Regions from separate parts of the Homo sapiens genome. Here region 2 is linked to region 1. Evidence: promoter capture Hi-C in 16 types of primary human blood cells and fetal thymus (Javierre and others, 2016). All regions are on one chromosome and are shown on one strand. Each heading gives the region's core, a stretch centred on a gene start or on the middle of the fragment in contact. The rest is flanking DNA. Distances are from core to core; before and after follow the strand shown. Region 1 holds the start of DCDC2C (doublecortin domain containing 2C). Region 2 holds the start of LINC00487 (long intergenic non-protein coding RNA 487).

What was found. Contacts are between HindIII fragments. The CHiCAGO score rates a contact against its expected background, and 5 or more counts as called.
Region 2: a contact is called between a fragment that was not itself captured here and the fragment with the promoter of DCDC2C in region 1, in 1 of 17 cell types (endothelial precursors). The highest score is 5.3, in endothelial precursors.

What each region holds. Positions count from the first base shown.
Region 1 is chr2:3,702,085-3,705,484 of GRCh38, forward strand. It overlaps DCDC2C (doublecortin domain containing 2C), which reads left to right and starts at 1,491. Exons shown (of 11, transcript NM_001287444.2): 1 at 1,491-1,954. The coding sequence starts at 1,668. It overlaps ALLC (allantoicase), which reads left to right. Exons shown (of 12, transcript NM_018436.4): 12 at 279-587. The coding sequence ends at 479. It overlaps LOC105373393 (a long non-coding RNA gene), which reads right to left and starts at 1,416. Exons shown (of 3, transcript XR_922732.1): 1 at 1,375-1,416; 2 at 724-1,030; 3 at 476-555. The HindIII fragment of the contact is 3,644 bases long and covers 1-2,761 here.
Region 2 is chr2:6,767,892-6,771,291 of GRCh38, forward strand. LINC00487 (long intergenic non-protein coding RNA 487) reads right to left here and starts at 2,420. Exons shown (of 6, transcript NR_038369.1): 1 at 2,188-2,420. The HindIII fragment of the contact is 3,332 bases long and covers 1-3,220 here.

The sequences.
Region 1 (3,400 bases), core at 241-2,740:
CTTATCAATTTGCTTATGTATAATCAACTATTAGAAACAACTGATGGGCATTTAGGTTGCCCATCAATTGTTTATTGGGGCCTGCTTATTCATGTATTATTTGGGCATCCTATCCCTACTAGCAGATTTTCATGGAAAGCCCAATTATCATCAATTAATAACTTATTTTAAAGCCCCTTCGGTTAAGTCTAAGCCAAAGGTTTGCCCGGGCCGTGGGCTCATTCGGCCACACATGTCCTGTTAACAGACTAGGACCTCTGCATCTGCTTGCTTTTCAGTTGTCTCCCAACCAAAGTCATCTGTTCGATAGCCTGACCCTAGAGCTCCAAGATGTCATCACTCACGCCAGGCTCACCATCGTCCCCGACGGGGGAGTGAGCCGCCTTCGGCTCCGGGGCTTCCCCAGCTCCATCTGCCTCCTGAGGCCCCGGGAGAAGCCCATGTTGAAGTTCTCGGTGAGCTTCAAAGCAAACCCTTAACACACACAAAGCCCCGGTGTCGGACACACAGCAGTAATTTCCCAGTCATAGTCTTCTTTTCAAATGTTTTGAACACCTGGTGATTTAATAAAGTGGTCGTCTCACAAATTGATCTCTGTATTTAATGTTGCTATGAGGCATTTAGTAGCTTACATACTGGCTATGGCTGTGACTGGTGGTCTCTACGGAACTACTTTTTTTGAACATTATAAGATATTAATACTCATAATATCAATATCTGTACCTTCGGTGTGGACTTCCAGCCGTAACATGTAGCCTACTGACTGTCTAGAATCACTCAAGGGGACTGGCCTATCTTTACCCAGAGTAGGAACGATTCTTCCAAAGACCCCCTCTCCCTTTGAATCATTCCCCAATGAGGATGCGTTCTGAATGGCACGCGCCTGACACCGCACACCAGCGGCTATAGCGCGGTTCCTCACGGCCTCCCAGTGGCTCTGCACACCTCCTCCTCTGGTGGAAAAGCTCAAATTCCCCACTCTGGGCCAGGAGTCCTGGAAGACACTGGGGCTGAACCGGTCAAATTCAACCTAAGATCAAAGAAACAGAGGCTCAAAAAATGTGAAGCAGATCCCAGCACCCATCCAATGTTGATTGTCAAGATGGTCCTGGTCCCTCCCTAACCCTCCTCTCTACCGCTTCTACAGAGGAAGGCGGCGAGTGTAGGGGGAGGAGGCACGGTGGGCGTCCCGGGGCGCTCAGCACAATCATGCTAGCCGCCTCCTCCTCCTCTTTTCCTGAGCTCTGCCGCCACGCCCCTCACCTGCCCGGGCTCCCCGTTGCCCCCTCACCTGTCTCCGCCCTGTGCCGCGCCTCACCTGCTTGGGCTCCCCATTACCCAATCACCTGTCCCTGCCCCGTGCCGCCTGCTCACCTGCCCGGGTTCCCCGTCGCCCCGTCTCCTGCCCCGGCCCCGAGCCCCTCGCCCTGGCGGCCAGGCGGTCACAATCGCCCAGGGTCGCGTCAACACGCAGCCTCCGCCCGCCTGGCAGCCCCGTCCCGTCCCCGTCCAGCCCCCGTCCCGTCCCCGTCCCGTCCCCGTCCTGCGCCAGCGGCTGGAGCGGACCTCCCGTCGGCGGTGCCCGGGCCTGGGCGCGGCTCTGCAGGCGTCGCTGCCCGCGCTGCCGCAGCCTCTCGGCCCCGGCGAGCGAGGAGCGGGGCGCGGCTATGGGAACCCGCGGGCCCTCCGCGCCGGTGGACACCACGCCCGCCAAGACCATCGTGGTGTACCGCAACGGGGACCCGTTCTACGTGGGCAAGAAGTTCGTGCTGTCGCGGCGCCGCGCGGCCACCTTCGAGGCGCTGCTGGAGCAGCTCACGGAGCAGGTGGACGTCCCGTTCGGCGTGCGCCGCCTCTTCACGCCCACGCGTGGGCACCGGGTGCTGGGGCTGGACGCGCTGCAGGCGGGCGGCAAGTACGTGGCGGCGGGCCGCGAGCGCTTCAAGGAGCTCGAGTAAGTGCGCCCGCGCCCCCCACGCGCCCTGCGCCCCTCCCCGCCCTCTTGGGTCTGAGCGTGGTCAGGGCCGTGCCCCCCAGGTGTCCTCCCCAGGCTTCCCTCCCGGCTCGGGCGCCCATCTTTCGGCGTGGATCCAGCGCAGCCGGCGTCGGGCCGCCCCAGGCCACGTGGTTTCCTGGGGGCGAAGCCGAGGCAGCCCCGCCCCCAGGGTCCCTTCCTATGGGGCAGGGCGGGCCCTGGCCGGCAGCGATTCAGGACCGCCCCAGAGACGGCCAGGAGGGCGTGGGGGAGGGGCGTGGGGCAGAAACAGGGGTGTGGAGGAGGGCGTGGGGGAGGGGTGTGGAGAGGGGCGTGGGGGGCGTGGGGGAGGGGTGTGGAGAGGGGCGTGGGGGAGGGGTGTGGAGAGGGGCATGGGGGAGGGGTGTGGAGAGGGGCGTGGGGGGCGTGGGGAGGAGTGTAGGGGAGGGGGAGGGGGGAGGGGCGTGGGGGAGGGGCATGGGGCAGAAACGGGTGTGGAGGAGGGCATGGGGGAGGGGTGTGGAGAGGGGCGTGGGGGGCGTGGGGGAGGGGTGTGGAGAGGGGCGTGGGGGAGGGGTGTGGAGAGGGGCATGGGGGAGGGGTGTGGAGAGGGGCGTGGGGGGCGTGGGGAGGAGTGTAGGGGAGGGGGAGGGGGGAGGGGCGTGGGGGGGAGGGGCGTGGGGGGCAGGGCCTGGGAATGGGGCGGGTTGGGCAGTTCCCATTTGAAATCGCTCAGGGTGACCCCTCTCACTCTGTGTCCATCACTTGGTCCTGCGTGCATTTTCAAGCTTGCCTTTAATTAAACTATTGCCCTCCCACGGTTTGTGTCTGTAATCCCATTATTGCAGCCTGTGTCTGCTTTCTGTGATCTCAGCTGCTTTTCTCTCCTGATTCTCTGTTTCCTTGTAGGTTTACTTATTTTTTGACTGTGAACTACTCCTTTTGTATAGCTTTGTGTGGGGACATTCTTCAGGGCTGAGATAAAAGTGAGATTCCCCAGAGAGAATTTCCATTTTCTTCTTTCAAATGCTCTCCGTTCAAAAATGCTCTGAATTAAATCAGCAGCTTGAGTTTTGTTTGTTGTTTTTTGAAAAAGTAGTAGGATTTAGTATGAGGGCTGGTGTATGGTTCCAAATTCTTAGTGGCATTTGCAAAGATGTGAATTTACCATTCAGTTGTTTCTGAAGAAAAGTCGTAAGTCACAGGCATCACAGTTGCTAAGAGGTAGAATCTGGATTAGCATATTTCAGATTGAAATTTATTACTATGATAATCCTGTTATGTATTAGAATTCATGGACAAAATTATATTCCTTTATAGCCATGTGATTTGTGATTATTTTTTCCAAGCTAGTCAGATGGTGTGAATATCTAGAACTGACATCCTACCCAGGATCCAGTGTTCAGTGCTGATTTACAATTAAAG
Region 2 (3,400 bases), core at 305-2,804, 3.1 Mb after region 1:
ATAGGATTAGAAATGAGTAGCCAGCATGCTCATGGCCGTGTATTACAGCATAAATATTCAGAAACTTGCTTTAGACATCACTTACAGATTCTTTCCTGAAACTTCACATAGAACGTACAGAAACACAAGTATTGTGTGAAGCAGTTGTGGGGCCAGGGAGGTGCCCGGGCTTTGAGGGCACGTAGCCTTTGCCATGCAATAGCTTCTGGAATTACACGCATGGCCTGCTCCCCAGCTTCCCCACCAGCAGGGACTGGGGCGTGGACCGGGGATGGAGACTGGGGGTGGGGGTCCACCTGTGGACCTCCGATAGGAGGGAGCTGCTTGGCCCTTCTCTGGCCCATCTCTGGCAGGCAGTTGCTGGACAAACTGCAGAGGTCTCCACCTGCAGCATCCAAGGCACACAGGCTCTTCATAAAAATCCCTTTCTCCTGTCCCCTTCCAATTGGTGGCAGCTGCCACTCAGCATCTTTGGTTTTAAACAGTGAAATGGCTTCCCAGATGTCAGGGGGGAAAATCAGTGCAAGGCCTAGACTCGGAATTCCAAGTCGCCCCATCCAGATAGCTGCACCGAGAAGAGAGAAGACACAGGACCGTTTTGTCGTTTTCATTTCCGTTTTCTTTTACTAGGAAATTGAAATCGGGTTTCTGGTCTCCGCACTACGGGCTCAGAGGGTTCTTTGGTGTTGGGGAGGCATCGAGCCTTTGGTGCTGCACACACCCTAAACCCTGGCTCCACCCGTAGATGCCAAGAGCCCCCTCCAGCTGCGATCGCCAAAAATGTTTCCAGACTTTCCACCTACCTCCAGGGGCAAAATCACCTAGGATGAGAACCACATAATTCAGGGGCGTCCAGTCTTTTGGCTTCCCTGGGCCACATTGGAAGAAGAATTATTGTCTTGGGCCACACATAAAATACACCACACTAGCAATAGCTGATGAGCTAAAGAAAATCATAGCTGAGAAATCTCAATGTTTTTAAAAGGTTTACAAATTTGGGTTGGGCTGCATTCAAAGCCACCCCAGGCCACATGGGCTGCAGGTTGGACAAGTTTGAAATAAGTTATGCTATGGCAAACAATAAGCTGATATTATACAAATATTTTACTTACAAAAAAATAACTACCATAAAAAGATGTACGTGGAGGCGTGTGTGTGTGTGTGTTGGGTTGTGTGGGAAGGGGTGTGAGCATATGTGTGTGTTGAATGTGGGTGTGTGTGTGTTGGGTTGTGTGGGAAAGGGTGTGAGCAAGTGTGTGTGTTGAATGTGGGTGTGTGTGTGTTGGGTTGTGTGGGAAGGGGTGTGAGCATGCGTGTGTGTTGAATGTGGGGGTGTGTGTGTTGGATTGTGTGGGAAGGGGTGTGAGCAAGTGTGTGTGTTGAATGTGGGTATGTGTGTGTTGTGTGGGATATAAGTCTGTGTAATGTGTGTTACATATGATGCATGTGTTTATGTGTGTAGTGTGGGTGTTGGTGTGTGTGTATGTATGTATCTGTGTGTTTACATCTGTGGTGTATGTGTATGCATGTTTGTGTAGTGTGTGTTAGTGTCTGTGTATGTGTGTGGTATCTGTGTATTTTTGTGTGTAGTGTATGTGTGTGCATGTTTGTGTAGTGTGTGTTAGTGTCTGTGTATGTGTGTGGTATTGTGTGTTTATGTGTGTGGTGTATGTGTGTGCATGTTTGTGTGTGGCATGTGTTGGTGTGTGGCATTTGTGTGTTTATATGTGTGTTGTGTGTATGCATGTCTGTGTGTATATGTGTGGTGTCTGTGTGTTTCTGTGTGTGGAATATGTGTATGCATGTTTGTGTGTTGCATGGTGTGTGTATGTATGTGTGTGATATCTCTGTGTTTGTGTGTGTGGTGTCTGTGTATTCATTTTGTGTGTGTGGTGTGCACGTGTGTGGCATGCGTGTGTTTAAGTGTGTGATATATACATACACACGTGTGTGTTTATGTGTGTGGTGTATGTGTATTCATTCTGTGTGTGTGGTGTGCATGTGTGTGGCATATGTGTGTGTACGTGTGTGGTATATACATACACACATTTATGGATGGGGGTGTGTGTGTGTTGTGTGGGATATAAGTCTGATGAGGTAAAGAAGCTCCAGGAGATTCTCTTTGGTTGAATCTCATGCCATGAGACTTGGCTTCTGGCCACGATGGAGTGAGAAGCCTGGACTGACCTTTCTGCCTGGAGCAAGGGAACACCGTGTAGAACCGGCACGGCGCATCTTCCAGACGGCAGTGCCCAGGCTGCTTGGCAGGCACCCCTGCAGGAGGGGTCAGGGAGGTGGGCACCCAGCGGTCCCTCAGCACCCGTCCCGTGTGGCACAGTCCAGCCGCCTCCCAGGGCCGAGGAGGGGAGACGCAGGCTCCTGGGCTGCTCCCACCCAGGCCCCTGGAACAGCGCATCTTCTGTGACCGTGGTGAAGGAAAATCTCAGCCTCTGCTTCCCACCTCCTCAGCCCCTGCCTCAACAGGAAGCCCACAGCGCAAGAGACGCCATTCTAGGGCCAGGAAGGAAGAGCCTCAGACCCTGGAATTGCCATGTACAAACTAGACGTGTATTTATGGTGTGTCTGAATGTACAACAATTTCCTGTTTCGGAGAAAATAGTTCCTTCCTGGAAGGGCTGTTCTGTATTTGCACACTTTTCCCATGTGATTTTGGGGAAAAGTACCTGACTTTCTGTGAATAGACGCACTTTTTCTTACCGAAAATAATGATAGTTTCAATCTGGCTATAATCGTTCATATTCATGATTTTTTTCGGATGTAGAAATCAGCAGTTTTGCATTGTAAGACCTCACCCATCCACCACTCACCGTCCCCACACCCCTGGGAACAGGAGGAACCTCACAGAAGAAGAAGGTGGATTTTACTACCTACTTGCCACACCTCAATCTCTCTGTCTGTAAGCAGAGAGAATACGGTAATAATAATATTAATAATGATAATAATAATACCTTTCTCACAAGTTCGCAGGGAGGGATGAGTTCATGCACATAAAATGCTCAGCCCAGCACAGCTGAGCACACGATTCTCAGCACTATTACTTGCATTCTTGTCACTGAAAGGAAGAGGGAACGGAGTGTGACAGCGCAGGTTAGACCCCCGGCGCAGCCATCCACCTGCCACTTTGTCACAGGGACTCCACGACTAACTGCCGCCCTATTTTCCCATAAGCAGGCAATGGTGATGATAAAATCATTCTCAAAGCTTAGGGAGGCCAGGACCCAACCCAGGGCCGATCAACGCAAAGCCCTTGCTGCTTCCTATCCCATAAAACCCAATTATTTATGAATGTGAACCTAAAGCCGCATCCTAATTTAGAAGGCATGGAGATAACATGGCCAAGCAGCCGCCTCTCCAGGCAGCGAGATGACTAGGTAGGTCC